Linked DNA regions of Homo sapiens: region 2 is linked to region 1. Evidence: promoter capture Hi-C in 16 types of primary human blood cells and fetal thymus (Javierre and others, 2016). All regions are on one chromosome and are shown on one strand. Each heading gives the region's core, a stretch centred on a gene start or on the middle of the fragment in contact. The rest is flanking DNA. Distances are from core to core; before and after follow the strand shown.

Region 1 (3,635 bases), core at 1,136-3,635:
TGCCTCTGACAGAACCGTGTGAAATAACACAAATATTCTGGCTAAATTCCAGTGTGAGTGATTAACATTCTCCAACTTCAAATAATTTTTATTATTAGCCAACACTTGTCCATCCCCAGTAATACACACGTTGCATAAAGAGCACAGAATGAGATGGGCCTCCCTTGGCATGTTCATAGTCTGCACATACTTTCCACTGAGGGCTTCCCTTTCTTGCTCACTGCTATGCCCACAGCTTTTCAACTCCCACTATTTTCAACCCTGGGATGCTTCCTGACCCAGAGTGGCAAGTAATTCCAAAACACAAGAGATAAAATATGAACACCTGTAGAATTCCAGAGAAAGAAAGATGTAAGGTATATTTATTCATTTATTTAATTATGTATTTTAGAGTTGGGGGTCTTGCTATGTTGCTCAGGCTGGTCTGCAAACTCCTGGGTTCAAGCCATCCTCCCACCTCAGCCTCCCAAAGTGTTAGGATTACAGGCGTGAGCTATGGCGCCCGGCCTTTTAAACGTTTATTAATAGTTTTGATATCCGCGAAGTGATTGATATTTGTTCCTTTTTAACTTGGAGGCTGGGATTAACACACGTGTTCTTCATTATTGCCCACAAAGCGTTGTTGATACGCAGGAGGGGAGTGGCACTTCCGCAATTTATTCTTCCAACCTGTGCCAATGGGATCCAGCACAGGAGATGGACAGTAACCCGCGGTTGATCTGGATCTAGTCCAGTTAGTCCAGTCCCTATCCCTTCAAGTGTCCCCAGGCCCTCTTGCCTATTTTCGCCCTTTGCCCAGTGGAAGGAAAAGTTTGGGGAGAAGGAAAAAATTTAAACCCTCTTCCTAGGCGTGTGAATGTATTTCAAGTATGCTAAATACCTCAGTCTTCCAATCTAATTACAACACATAGAAAAGAGGCATTTTTAGGACATTTAAAACTTGTAGCATAATTGCGCAACTGAAGAGCGCCGCCGTGTCCCCGCCATCGGTGCGCCCTCCGACCCCCCGCGGCGCGCAAGTGCGCGGCTTAGCAGCAGGCAGCCGGGGACGGAAGGGCACGGGGAGGCCGGCGCCCTGCCCAGCACAGAACCCTGGGTCGGTATCGCTTCTCTCTGCGGGCGACTTCGGAACTGCCTGGGATTATAAACCTCGACCAATAAAGGACTCACATCTTTCTGGGTCTTCTAAAGGCAGAAAGAAATCCATTTTCTTGTCACAACAAGATTTTGTTAAGAGATGCAAAAGTAAAGGTCGAAGCCAGGGAGGCTGCGATAGTATGGGGGGAGGGGCGGCTACGATGGTGAGTGCCGCTGACCAACTACCTGGGTTCGAATCCCAGGGTTGCCATTTGGGCGGCTACTATGTGCCAGGTGATCGGAATACGGAGGTGAACTTGCTTGCCGAGGTCGCCCTTTCTTGGGGGAACTATGATTAGCTCGGTTGCCTTGGCCAAGTCTCAGTCTCGGTTTCTTCACCTGTAGGAAGTACCTGCCTCAGAATTGTTGTAAGGAGTGAGATCTTGTCTTAAGATGTAAACGGGCCGGGCGCGGTGGCTCACACCTGTAATCCCAGCATTTTGGGAGGCCGAGGCGGGCAGATCACGGTGTCAGGAGTTCGAGAACAGCCTTACATGGTGAAAGCCCGTCTCTACCAAAAATACAAAAATTAGCTGGGCGTGGTGGCGGGCGCCAGTAATCCCAGCTACGCAGGAGGCTGAGGCAGGATAATCGCTTGAACCCGGGAGACAGAGGTTGCAGTGAGCCGAGATCGCGCCACTGCACTCCAGCCTGGGAGACAGAACAACTCGTCTCAAAAAAAAAAAAAAAAAAAAAGGATGTAACCGATTAACACTTTGTTGGGCACACAGTAAAGGGCTCAGTAAGTATCCTCTCTTCTTTCACACAGTTCCAAGACAGCTCGGAAGGGAGACAGCCACGCCTAAGAGTGATTCCTTGAGCAGTTCTTTCAAAGAAGCACTGAACTCTGTAAGGACGCTTAGCTGCAGGCAGAAAGGGCAGGGGCCCTGGGAGCAAAGGTGCATAAGCCAGGAAGTTACAGGAGCGAGTCCTGCACCCAGGGCGCGGGCAGAGAACTCCGGAGGGACTTCTGGCAAGGGCTTCCCGCCCGGGTGCCCAGAGCGGCATGATTAGCATTCGCCCCGCCCCCATCTCCTCCAGGCCCGCGATTGGTCAGCGCTCCTTGGCTGCCCGCTCCTGGCGGGGCCAGAGGGCGCCGGGGGAAAGGCCGAGCCCGCGGGGCAGTGGGCGGGGACGCGCGGAGAGCTTGGCGAGGCGGCCCACCAACCGCGCCCGGGCCTGAGGGGGCGGAGCCGGGGCGGGGCTTCCCGGCGGGCATTAGAAGCAGGTGACCCGGGCGGGGCGGGAGAGGGCAGCCAGCCTGCGGCCGTGAGTCCGCTGTGGTCGCCGCCGCGCGCGGTTCCGTGCTCGCCAGAGGTGGGCGAAAGGGTGCGAGAGCGCGGGGGAGGAGCCGAGCAGGGCACGTCCCGAGAGCGTCGCCACCGCCCCCAGGAGTCCACTGGAGCGCGGAGCCCCCTGCAGGGGAGGAGGCGAGCGGCGGGCGGGACGCGGCGGCCGGCGCTCACCATGCAGTCCCGGCCTGGCCAGCGCCGGCTGCTCGCGGTGCTGTGAGGCGGCGGGGTCCCACGGCCCCCGCCTCCCGCCTTCCTCCCGCCCAGGTGCTGCCAGGCGCGCTCGCCCTCCGTCCGGCTCCCGGCCCCGGGGAGAACGCACGGCCTGCCCCTGCCCGGCTCCGTCTGGATCATGCGGGGGGCTCCCGAGGAGGAGAGGGCGAGTGACCGGCCTGCGCCGCCCCTGTTCTGGGGGCGCCCCCCACTCTGAGTCGCCCCCACCTGCTGCCATGTGCCGCTGCCACGGGTACCCAGCCTGTCGCTAAACTTTCCGGGCGCCAGCCCGGCTCTGAGTCGCGCTTCTCAGCGGAGTGACCCAGGGACGGAGGACCCAGGCTGGCTGGGGACTGTCTGCTCTTCTCGGCGGGATCCGTGGAGGTGAGAACCTTCCCTTTCTCCCTGTTCTTCTCCCGTTTCCTGTGCCCTTTTCCGGGAAGCTGAGGGTTCTGGTCTCCGGGCACTGCCTGAAGGGCCCAGCTTGGAAAGAGAGGGTGGGGGAGTCGGTAGTTTGGTTACAGGAGGCGGAGCGGGGAGGAAAGGAAAGGGGTTAACTTAAGAGATTTGGAGACAGCTCGCGGGGACCGAACTGTTGACGCCTCTCCAACAGGGAGTGGTTGCAATCTTTCTTCTCCCCCTTCTTTTTTAAAGAGTCCTTTCCCTGGAATCCGAGCCCTAACCGTCTCTCCCCAGCCCTATCCGGCGAGGAGCGGAGCGCTGCCAGCGGAGGCAGCGCCTTCCCGAAGCAGTTTATCTTTGGACGGTTTTCTTTAAAGGAAAAAGCAACCAACAGGTTGCCAGCCCCGGCGCCACACACGAGACGCCGGAGGGAGAAGCCCCGGCCCGGATTCCTCTGCCTGTGTGCGTCCCTCGCGGGCTGCTGGAGGCGAGGGGAGGGAGGGGGCGATGGCTCGGCCTGACCCATCCGCGCCGCCCTCGCTGTTGCTGCTGCTCCTAGCGCAGCTGGTGGGCCGGGCGGCCGCCGCGTCC
Region 2 (3,158 bases), core at 168-2,667, 270 kb after region 1:
TGCTTTGGTGGTATGGGCTGAGGAAAGGAAGCTTGACTTGTAACTATTGCGGTTCTGCAGAAGGCCCTGGCATGTAGGGCAGTGAGCCAGTGGCTGCAGTCTGCCTCCTGGTGCTCCCTCCTAAAGCCAAAGGCTCTTGGAAGAAAAGACTTAGTTTTGCAGCCAAACTAGAGGTGGAGGTCTTTCTGCGGTAGTCATGGTAATCTACTCAGTATAGATTTTATAGTTAAGCAGAGGCTGCCGTAAGGAAAACTGGGGCCAGAGCTGGACGGGCATTTGCCTCTTGAAAGGCTCTGCCTGTGGCTCCTCCTCCACCCCCAGCTGGCTGATAGGATCCCCAGGAATATCCACAGGCTGTTGAAGGCTCCTCGGTGTTAGTGTCCCATCCTGTCTTCCTTAGTCCCTCTTTTCTCCCCAACCATTTCATATTAGCAAGCACATTTTTTTTTAAACTTTTAAGTTCAGGGGTAATAGGTTACGTAGGTAAGCTGCAGGTTTGTTACACAAGTAAACTTGTCTCATTTCATCACCCAGGTATTAATCCTATTAGGTATTTTTCCTGATCCTCTCCCTCCTCCCACCCTCCACCCTCCAATAGGCCCCAGTGTGTGTTATTCCCCTCTGTGTGTCCGTGTGTTCTCATCATTTAGCTTCCACTTATAAGTGAGAACATGAGGTATTTGCAGTGTGACGAATCCAATAGTAGCTTACAGTTATGACAACAGCTGAAGAAGCTGGTGATAAAGGCATGTTTTGTCTTGATGTCAGTTAGAGGTCTACCTGAAAAATAGGTGAGCCATAGACAGTGAATAAATCAAACAAGTGCAAATTTGATAACAAGATGGACCAATAAGTTGTCAATAAGTGGAGAACAAATGTAATACAATTCCTGGTATTCTCTTGGAGAAACCTCTGCTTATGAGTCCTCTAGCTTTCAGCCTCTGTGCCTGGGCTCCATCTATATATCTAGACTCATCCCAGTTACTGAGCCAGTTATGACAAATAGGGAATATGTCAGTATACCAGAAAAGTATAATCCAGAAAAGAGAAACCCTGCTGAGCATTTGAAACAGAGGGAATATGCAGGGAACTGGTTATACAGGAGACAAAAGAGCTGAGAAGCCAAACAATGGATGGTGAGATAATCCAAAGAATTGTGATAGCAGAAAACCAGTACCACTTCTAAACTGGAGGTCAACAGGGAGGAGGTCGTATTTTTTTTTTTTTAAACCGAAGAGGAGGCACTAGGGTCATCTGTTGGGAGCTGGAGCCAGAGAAGAGATGCTGAGATACTGCCCAAGGCAGAGAGGGAGGAGGAAAAATATCCTGGGAAATACAGCTTGCAGTGGTCAGTCTCCTGGGACCCAGAGAACAGCAGCAGAGCGTGAGGACTGGCCCAGGCAGGAAGCCCCATGCAGTGTGTGCATGGGAGGGAGGGAGCTCAGAATCGAGTCTTGGCTGGGGGTGGACCTTGTGTCCACAGTTCTAGGGATGACTACTGCCTGCTGTGAAATCTACCAGTGGCAGCACCTTCTGTCATCACGAGGTCTGGTAGGGTGTGGTGGCTGAGAGAACTGTATCGTTCTTGATAGACATGTGGGTCCCATGGACATAAGCATTTATTCAAAACTAAGTGAGCTATAATATTTAAATTATACCTTGATAAAATATGTATTAACACACACGAAAAGCATCAGGCTCTGGAGTCACACTGTCTATGTTTGCTCCTTATGAGCTATTATGAACTGGACTGTGTCTTCCTCAAATTCATGTGTTGTTGAAGCCTCAGCCCACAATATGACTATATTTAAAGATAGGGCCTTTAAGGAGGTAATTACAGTTAAATGGGGTTCCTAAGGGTGGGACCCTAATCTGACAGGGCTGGTGTTTTTGTAAGAAGAGGAAGAGAAACCAGTGATCTCTTTCCACGAGTGCACAGAGAAGAGGCCATGTGAGGACATAGAAGAAGGTGGCCATCTGCAAGCTGAGAATAGAGGCCTCGCCAGGAACTAACCCTGCCAGCACCTCGATCTTAGATTTTGAACCTCCAGAATGTCAAGAAAATCTATTTCTGTTGTTTAAGCCACCCGGTCTGTGTATTCTGTTATGGCATCTGGAGCTGACTGATATATGAGCTATGTGACTGTGAGCAAAACACATATATTCTGTCTGCCTTAGTTTCTTCATCTGAAAAATGGAGATGATAAAAGTTCCCTCCTCATGGGGTTTTTGGCAGAATTCAGTGAAATATAGTTTAAAGCACTTGGCATGTAGACATGTAGTAAGTATGCCATGTAGCTTTTACTATTCATAAGCCTGAATTTTTGCCTCAGTATCCCTGCCCAGAATCTGGGTCTTCCCTGTAAATGGATGCTGCCTCCCAATTCTCTAGCCCCACACAGGATTTTGCCAGTCCCCTCTCTTGCTGTTCCTGGCACACTCCACCTTTCATTTCGGGTTCTGCTAGCACCACTCAGAACTGTCACCTGCTTTCCTTTTAGCTGTTTGCACTCCACTTGCCAACGTCATCTCCACCCTGAGATTGTCATGTCCTTATGATTATGTGCTTTGACCTATCTACCAAGTGGCTCATGGCTGAGCCAGCCTCTGTATCCATTTCCCATAACCCCATTCTCTCTGGTCCTGGTTCCATCCCATCAGCTTGTGTGCGTAGAATGGTACCCCATATTTCCTGCTTCCTTTAGCATTTAGGCTTTTTATACAGACTCATTGACCTGTGGCAACTCTAGATTTTTCTCTCTAGAAATGTATTGGGTTGGAAAGGGGCAAGTGGATAAGCTTGTTTTGAAGCTGCAGTTGCAGAGCAAGATTGCTGGTTTAGGTTTTGTTTTTAAATTTACGTCATAGGCTTACTTGGGTTGGATTTTAGGGGAAATTATCTGTGCACGTGGGGCCGTGGTCACAGGCCAGTTGGATACAACTTCCCAGCATCAGTCCTTCACTCAGCAAATTGTTACTGGTTTTATGTGGGCATTGGGACCTGTGGTTGTCTATCTGAGGTTTGTTGGGTGGTTTGCAAGCAGTGGTTGTCAAGTTTTCAGTGATTCCCTATGTGTATTTTCCGTTGCTGTATACCTCAAACTTAACAGCATCAAATAACACACATTTATTATCTCAGAGTTTCTGTAGTTTTTAGA

Evidence for each region. The method cuts DNA at HindIII sites, captures the fragments that hold promoters and counts their contacts. A CHiCAGO score of 5 or more calls a contact.
Region 2: a fragment that was not itself captured here is called in contact with the fragment with the promoter of FZD5 in region 1 in 1 of 17 cell types (neutrophils); the score reaches 5.7 in neutrophils.

Annotation. Positions count from the first base shown.
Region 1 is chr2:207,768,656-207,772,290 of GRCh38, reverse strand. It overlaps FZD5 (frizzled class receptor 5), which reads left to right and starts at 2,385. Exons shown (of 2, transcript NM_003468.4): 1 at 2,385-3,026; 2 at 3,297-3,635. The coding sequence starts at 3,552. RefSeq lists silencers at 1-28, 2,085-2,764, 3,105-3,164, 3,575-3,634 and enhancers at 500-1,320, 1,485-1,534. The HindIII fragment of the contact is 9,976 bases long and covers 1-3,635 here.
Region 2 is chr2:207,501,767-207,504,924 of GRCh38, reverse strand. No RefSeq gene overlaps it. Among named protein-coding and RNA genes, the nearest start is that of CREB1, 27 kb to the left of the region's middle. RefSeq lists an enhancer at 1,327-1,386. The HindIII fragment of the contact is 2,768 bases long and covers 34-2,801 here.